2 separate regions of the Homo sapiens genome follow, and region 1 is linked to region 2. The links are contacts of gene promoters, found by promoter capture Hi-C in human tissues and cell types (Jung and others, 2019). All regions are on one chromosome and are shown on one strand. Each heading gives the region's core, a stretch centred on a gene start or on the middle of the fragment in contact. The rest is flanking DNA. Distances are from core to core; before and after follow the strand shown. Region 1 overlaps KCNK10 (potassium two pore domain channel subfamily K member 10). Region 2 holds the start of KCNK10 (potassium two pore domain channel subfamily K member 10).

What was found. Contacts are between HindIII fragments. The study calls those that stand out against the background at their distance.
Region 1: a fragment that was not itself captured here is called in contact with the fragment with the promoter of KCNK10 in region 2 in 3 of the 25 tissues and cell types used here (dorsolateral prefrontal cortex, hippocampus and spleen).

What each region holds. Positions count from the first base shown.
Region 1 is chr14:88,250,233-88,254,321 of GRCh38, forward strand. The region is part of intron 2 of KCNK10 (potassium two pore domain channel subfamily K member 10); the gene reads right to left. Among named protein-coding and RNA genes, the nearest start is that of KCNK10, 71 kb to the right of the region's middle. The HindIII fragment of the contact is 4,487 bases long and covers 209-4,089 here.
Region 2 is chr14:88,321,294-88,325,372 of GRCh38, forward strand. KCNK10 (potassium two pore domain channel subfamily K member 10) reads right to left here and starts at 1,976. Exons shown (of 7, transcript NM_138317.3): 1 at 1,454-1,976. The coding sequence starts at 1,505. RefSeq lists enhancers at 1,322-1,981, 2,554-2,613 and a silencer at 2,264-2,503. The HindIII fragment of the contact is 9,751 bases long and covers 1-4,079 here.

The DNA of each region.
Region 1 (4,089 bases), core at 1,202-3,701, 71 kb before region 2:
GATGAAATCAATAACCCCAGGGATAGAAACAGTAATAATAATGACTCGGAGGCCTGTAGACACAGGCTGGGGGCTGCAGGCCTGATCTTGCACACATTGAAGCATCTTTTGCGTGACTGCCTTGCTGGTGAAAGGGCAGCTCTTCTAAATTCAAAGCAACAGCCAGGAGGAGTCACTTCAACTCAGAGTTGTGCCCCTGGGCTCAAAGAACCCGAACCTGCACTCTCCAGAGCTCACCTGCTGCCTGAGCTGCTACCTAAACTTCCTGGACTAAAGACTGCTTGAAATAGGGGATGGCCCAGGGCAGACAAACAGAGGGCTGCTCTAGATCTGCACTCTGAAGTCACAACAAGGATTTCCATGAACATCTCAGGTGCCGTGCTTTCCAACACGCTGCTTTCCTAAAAATTCTTATGTCCCTAAATAGGGAAATACGTAAAGCTTCGACGGCTATAGATACCAAGGGAATCTGCTCATGCATAAAGAAGACAACAAGGTGAGTTTTTGTCTTAGCTGGGTGTGGTGGCACACCCCTGTAGTCCCAGCTTCTCAGGAGGCTGAGACAGAAAAATCACTTGAATACAGGAGGCGGATCCAGAGAAGTACTATTGACAACCAGACCAAAAAGAAAAGACTTGTAAAACAGAAACAAAAGAATTTTTTGCTTTCCTTCTGTGAAAGTTCTAAATGAAGGGCTCTTGGTCTTCAAACAGATACAAAGGCTGGGCACAGTGGCTCATGCCTGTAATCCCAGCACTTTGGGAGGCCGAGGTGGGCAGATCACAAGGTCAAGAGTTCAAGACCAGCCTGGCCAATATGATGAAACCCCGTCTCTACTAAAAATACAAAAATTAGCTGGGCGTGGTGGTGCACACCTGTAGTCCCAGCTACTAGGGAGGCCGAGGCAGAAGAATCGCTTGAACCCAGGAGGTGGAGGTTGCAGTGAGCTGAGATCATGCCAAGGCACTCCAGCCTGGGAGACAGAGCAAGACTCTGTCTCAAAAAAAAAAAAAAAAAAAAAGAACAGACACAAAAAGCACCATTCCTTCATTCCTCAAGCCTTTAGCATTTTCTATTGGCCAGCCACTGTGCCAGGCAGAAGGGATATATTGATAAAAGACATAGATTCAACTTCAAAGAGCTCACAGTCATGGAAAGAGGACAGAGAAAAGTAAAGGTCATCCAAGAGAGTCTAGCAAATGGGGGGCAAATGGTGCCAAGCAGGACACGACCCAACATAAAGGGCCCATAAAGGCTTCCCCCAAGAGTTGAGTTTTGGCACCACTGAGGACAATTGAGTTCAGAACTCCAGAGCAAAACACTTAGCAGAGTGCCACAGTTGCCACTCCATAAATGTTTAGTTATTGAATTAATGAACAAATAACTTAAAACCCTTTGGGTTTATACGAAGAACCAAAATGGCAATGTACTGATTGACCAGATTATATCACTCTGCTACTGAAAACATAACTGTAAGCTTCACAGTGCTCTTAAGATAAAATTCAGAATCAGCACCTGCGTGGTTTGGCTCCTGCCTGTCTCCAGCCAAATTGCTTTCTAAGTTCCCTTTGCTAAATGCCCTTTGGCCACATTTGCTCACTTCTCTCAAGTCCTCAGCCATGGCATGTTGCTTCCTCCCATCCAGGGCCTTGACTCAGCCCTCTCTGCCTGGAATCTTTGTCCTACTAAATCAGTTCTCCTATTTGGGTGTCCCATAGCTCTAGCTCCCTCTCCTTTGCAACTTTCATCTGGCTTTTAGTTACAATTATTTGTGTAATAACATGCATAAGGTTTGGCTCTCCCACTGTCTATAAGTAGGGTCACTATATATTTTATATTTCAAACCAAGACACTTTTTTTTTAATATAGATGGGGTTTTGCCATGTTGCCCAGGCTGGTCTCAAACTCCTGAGCTCAAGTGATCCGCCTGCCTCAGCCTCCCAAAGTGCTGAGATTATAGACATGAGCCACCACGCCCAGCCCCAGGACACTTCTGAGAGAGAAAGGGGCACTATTAACAATTACTCCAGAACCACAAAACCTGGGACATTTGGTCATCCTAGTTATAAGCTCCAAGAAGGCAGGGACCATGTCTGTCTTTTATTCACCATTACATCCCAGCATCTAGCACAGTAGGCAATCAACAAGTTTGTTGAATGAAAGAATGAATAAGTGAGTGAGCAAATGAGTAAGTGAGTGAGCAAGTGAGTGACTCGGGTCTTGGCAGAAGGGCAGAGCCACAGCCTTGGGAAATGTTTATGGGTCATGCAAATTACCAAGGAGATTACCAACATCTCCTTGGTTATGGAGAGAACAGTTTGACAGTTCATAATATCTAGTCCTCTCATCTGCAGAATAGCAGCTTTGGTTGCCATGACAACATCAAAGGTTCATACCCAGGACCACAGCACAATACCCACTCCTCACATGCCGCTGCCCACATCTTAGACTAAATCTTTCTCCACTAAAACATGGTAGAGTCAGGCCCAATGCGCACAGCCAATAAAATGAGTCAGTAAGCCAGAGGCCAACAATCTGGCACCCCAGCCTTGTCATGCAGGCTCTCTGTATGTCAGAAAGGTTACAAATACAGGAAGAGGACAGGAGAGAGAGCTCTGCGTTAGAAGGCAAGCACTAACTGTCACAAAGGAGCCTGCTCATCATGTTGTTTGAGTGGGTTTTCCCTTCGTCAGGAGGAATTTGTCTTGATCCAATTATGTACTCTCTAAGCCCACCGTGTCAAGCCAAGGAGAGTACGATTAAGAGAGCGTGGCCTCTGGAGTCAGAGAGATCTAGCTAGACTCAAGTCCTGCTTTGGTCACTAGCTAGATGCAAGAACTTTACCCTCTGTAAAATGGGGCAGCAACAGTGGCCGCCTCTTGGTGCAATGGAGAGAGGCAAATGAAGCTAAGTAATATATGTAAACTCTCTAGCACCCAGCCAGCACAGAATCAGTGCCTAATAAATAATGCTGACTGGAAAGAGTCAGGGGAGCAGAGGATAGGGAAGGATTTGTTAAACAGGACATAATTACAGCAAGATAACAGGAATAAATTCTAGTGTTCTATACCACTGCAGGATGGACTACAGTTAACAATAATCTAGTATATAGTTTCAAATAGCTAAAAGGAGGATATTGAACGTTCCCAACACAAAGAAATGATAAATGTTTGAGATGATGAATATGCTAATTTCCCGGATCTGATCATCATACATTGTAGGTATGGAAACATCACGAGGTACCTCATAAATACATACAATTATTATAGGTCATTTTTAATTTTTTAATGAAAAAATAATAAATCTTGCCAAATAATACTCATCAAACACAGTACTGAGCAAAGTATCTGAAACTCTATTTGGAAAGGATTAAAAAAAAAATCCTTAGCCGGCACAGTGGCTCACACCTGTAATCCCAAAACTTCGGGAGGCTGAGGTGGGCAGATCACCTGAGGTCAGGAGTTTGAGACCAGTCTGGCCAACCTGGCAACACCCTGTCTCTACTAAAAATACAAAAATTAGCTGGGGTGGTGAAGTAGCCTGTAATCCCTGCTACTTGGGAGGCTGAGGCAGGAGAATCACTTGAATCCAGGAGGCAGAGGTTGCAGTGAGCTAAGATCTCACCATTGCACTCCAGTCTGGGCAACAGAGTGAGACGCCATCTTGGGGGCAGAGAGGGGAAGCCCATAGACGTCATAAAGTGAAAACCAATGGTAAAGTTTCTGTTCACCAACATAAAGAGTCACTGGACCAGTCAGGGTGAGGGGGAGAGAGAGAGAGAGACAAAGCAGGTGGGAAGAGACCCCCCAAAAGGCTCATGCTCCAGGCAGTTCCAGACCTAGCCCCAGCCATGCAGATGAAGGCCCCGGGACTTTCTTCAGACAGAAAAACTATCATGAACAGACAGTGACCATTTTGCATTGGAGAGACCCCTCTTGCTGGAGGCAAGGACTGAAGTGAGCCAAGGAAGAAGGCAGCCTACCAGGGAGTGAGATAACCTGCTCACTCTGAGGGGATTAGACCAACCTGCCCCCAGAAACATTCTCCAGAGAGAGAGGAATAGACCCCTGTCGTTTGCTTTATGGCAAG
Region 2 (4,079 bases), core at 726-3,225:
GGAAGCCTTCTCTGGTCCTTGTCAATCTCTTCTATCAGACACTTTCTTAAACCTCTGATGCTCTCCCTGGAGCATACATAAACTTTGAATTATGCATTCCTCCATGGAATTGATTTAGGTCTGTCTCCCTCACTGTAAACTCCAAGTCAGAGCTTTTATCTTTCCTGTTCTGACTGTATCTCCAGAGCTTAGGACAGTGTTTAGCATGTAATAGGTATTTAACAAATATGCTTTTCAGGGATTCTCCCCCCAAAAAAGCAAAGGCACACCTCCATATTTCCAGAGATTTCAAGTAGAGACAAAATAGAAGGTTTGGGCTGTATTTAAGATGTAACAGCCTCAGTGTTTTAAAAAGGCAGTATCTCTTCACTCACTCTTCAATAGCCAGTCAATTCCTAAGACATTTACTCAACAAATAAGATGGTTTCTTCTTTCCAGTCTGGAGAAAAAGAAGAAATGCGCTCATAAAGAACATTAAACACACACGCACCCCAAATAAACAAATTTCAATTCCAATACACACAGAGGCGTTGCCTAGCCTGACACAGTCGTCAGATGAGCTACAAGAAATGCTAAAGAGCATTCTTGTCACAACTGGACACGCGGTTCCAACTTGTTCTGCTCTCATACTGATCACTCCCTTGGAGCCTTAACATCTGTATGCTAATTACAGACACGGTGGCCGACGCTAGGCACACACAAATCCGTCTTAATCCCTCCCTTTTGCGTGGATGAAACCTGGTCCAACATTCGTAAAAGCATGCAAACCACACCATTGCTTGGGCGGGCACACTTCGTGCCCCTCCCCTATGCCTTGCCAGCCCCACCCTTCTCACAAACCACCCCTCCTCCTGCTTCTACTCTGACCTGAGCCTAACTAGCTGCTAGGTTTGGTAATAAGATTGAACGAAGACTCAGGAGGCCCTGTGGGCTCCATTATTCTGCATGCCCTGCGAGAACGGCCCACCCCTAGGGACGGCTGCTGCAACTCGAGCCCCACTTGCTGCCAGGAAACCTTTCCCACTGAGGACACCCGGGCATGCGGCGCAGCTCCAGGTCCAGGGGGAAGCACCCCACCCATCTGCCAGAGAGACAAAGATCACCAGAAACAAAGGACACACACACACACACACACACACACACACACTCGCACACTCAAAGTCAAAAGCAAATACCGACACTTGCAATTTCAAACCAAACAGTCGGCTTGGTCTATCTAAATAGATCTGGAGACAATCTAGGAGGGACAATGATTATGTGGTAATGACAGGCACTATCTGGGTTCGGAACCCACGCTGCCTCCGCCCTCCTCCCACCCGCGCTGCAGTTCCCAGGCGCATTTCCCAGCCTCAGGACACACGCTGCCAGAAGCAAGAGTGCTTCCACTCAAGGAAGCGCGCACACGCCGGAGACAGAGGCAGGGCGAGGGCAGCCAAAAGTAGGAAACACCCACCTTTAGGATCCCAGTTCACCTGTTTTCTTGGCGTCTCGATTGGAAATTTCATTGCTTCGTTGCCCAGAAGGGGAAGAAATGAAAAGAACCCAAATAATAATAAAGTCCTCAAGCTTTACACGCCTCGGTTTAGCAGTCCAACAAAACAATTTCCGAGGATGGGGGAGCCTTGGACTGGCTCGTGGAGGAACCCCAGAAAAAGACAGGTGGGAAAATATTAGCTTGGGGGAGAACTGGAGAGGGCTTGGGTGTTTGCACCGGCCAGGGGGTGGCCGGCCGCGGCCCCGTGGGTAAAAGAAAAAGTAAGATCGGCGAGGGGTGGATGAAAGGATGGAGAGGAAGGCTTGGGGAGATGGAAGAGCCAAGCTGCTTCCCAAAAGCGGTGCCGGCAGGTTAGGGGCTGCGCAGCCTGAAGGCTGGGGCTACGGAGAAGCCCACTGCAGTGTCACTCCAGCCCCCGAAGGCGTGTGCGCACACACTCCCGCACACACACACCCGCACACACACTCCCGGGCGCGCGCTTGGGCGGGCACGTCAGCCTCGCTCGGCCGCGCTGAGCGCACACGCCCCACCCCGGCCGCGGCTCCTCGCCCCCGGCGACGCCCCCCACTTCCCGCTCCCCGAAAGCCATTGGATGTAGGGGTGGCGCGGCGCCCGGGCAGCGCGCGGCGAGGGCGACCCTCCCCGCGGCGCGCCCCAGACGCCGCGCCCCGGCAAGAGGGAGCAGGGCGAGCAGCGGACCGAGGCTCCCAGCTGGGAAGGCGCGCTGAGCCCCCGGCACCCGGCTCGGGGCAGCGGGAGGCGGTCGCGGACTTGCCCGCGGGGCGGCGGGAGGCGGTGGGCGGTGGCGGGGAAGCCGCGGAGGGGCGGGGAACGAGCGGTGGGCGCGCCGCTACTTACTGGCTCGGCCGGCCGGCGGGCGGGCGTGGAGGCGGCAGCGGCGCGCTTGCTGGAGTTGCAGCCGGAGACACGCTTGGTTGCCTGGAAGGCGCTGCAGGAGGCGGAGGAAGGGCCGCTGCGGCTCCGCCGCAGACCTCGGCCTCCGGGTCACCTCTTCTCACCGCTCTCACCCTGAGCTCTCCCTCCTTCTCTTTTCTCACTTCATTTTTTTTCCTCCCGCGTCTGGCTCTCTCGCCTGAGTCCCGAACCCACGTCCCCGCCGCACTCCAAGGAGGCCCGTGCCAGCCATGAGCCTTTTGTTCTGGGACCGCTCCGCATCTGCTGCGCTCTCCCCGCCCGGGGAAGCTCGCTCCCAAGGCACAGCTTGGTCCCTTCCCCAGCTACCTGCAGCCGGACTGGGGCCGCTGGTCGTTGGCTGGAAAGGAGGCTTGAGAGAGGCACGGGGGCCCCCGGAGGAAAGCGGAGTTGCCAAGACCCGGCAGCTCCCGGAAGCGGCGGCCCCGGGATCCTGGGACCAGCAGGGCAGATGCGAAGGGACCCAGACCTGTTCCCGGAAAGGGGCTAAACCTGGAGCATTCGTCTAACGCCCTCTCACTGCCCCTGCTTGAAGCCCCACAGGGGTTTGTGGTGGGGCCTCAGTCTTCAGAAAAGCCAGGTGGTGCTGAGGTGCTCTTGAACGGGTCACTCCGAGTATCAACATGAATGATGCTGACAAATTGCTTCGGATGCCTCGCAACGGAGCCTTACACGTAGTAGGTGCTCAAGAAATACTTGCTAAATGAAGACATGAATTGCATGCTGCAGTGTTGGATAGGAAGTAGTTTAAACCCCTACTCTGGCTTCCAGATAAGGTTACTAAAATTTGTTGTTCATTCAACATATATATTGAACCCCTTCCAAGTGCCATCACTGTGCTATGTGCTGGCCATATGGCAGAGAACAAGACAGAGATCTTGCCTTCATGGGGCTTACTATCTAGTGCCATAAGGTCCTGTTAGATTGTTGTTGCCTTTACTTACGCATAGAAATTGCCCAGCTCATTCCTATGCCTGCCAGCTGGGGTCCTAAAATCCCACACTAGCAGCTGATCTCTAAGTTGCATGCTACTCTACGGCACCTTGAGGCTTCTGGGGAGCCCTATGTCAGCAGCATCTTTCTCACCATCCATCCGTCACTATCACATCAAGGTTTCTGAGTCCAAGAGCAAGACCTACAGAGGTCCGCTGTGGTCTGTGGGAAAGGTGAGTGCTTTGTCACTGGGCTGTCACAGGCACCCCAGGCTGGAGCCCTGAATTCTCTGCAAACCCCGTTCAGGCAAAACTGGTACCAATCTGATGGTGCTACTCTGACTCTTCAGCCCTTTAGGCAGGTTCCCGGGTGCTTCAGAACCATCTTCCCTGGACTCTGTAACCACACTTTGCCTCTCTCTACTAGGACTGGGAGGATGGCTAAGACATAGAAATCAAACAAACAAGGAATCTCTGCTTCTCCCAGCCATGCCCCGAGACACCAGTGTGTATGTAAATTCTGTTCTCAAGTCCAGAGGGAGATGCTTCTAAGAAAGGCTTTCGAACCTCCCTCTGCGCTCTTCTCTTTAACTGTTCACGGACAGCTGGACTCTAGCACAGTCACTGCAATACAATGTTTTTTACATGCATCAGAGTCAGAGAGGGGCTTCAGCAGAGAAAGACACCCTCTCCTGAGTCCTCAGAGCACGGGGAGGCAA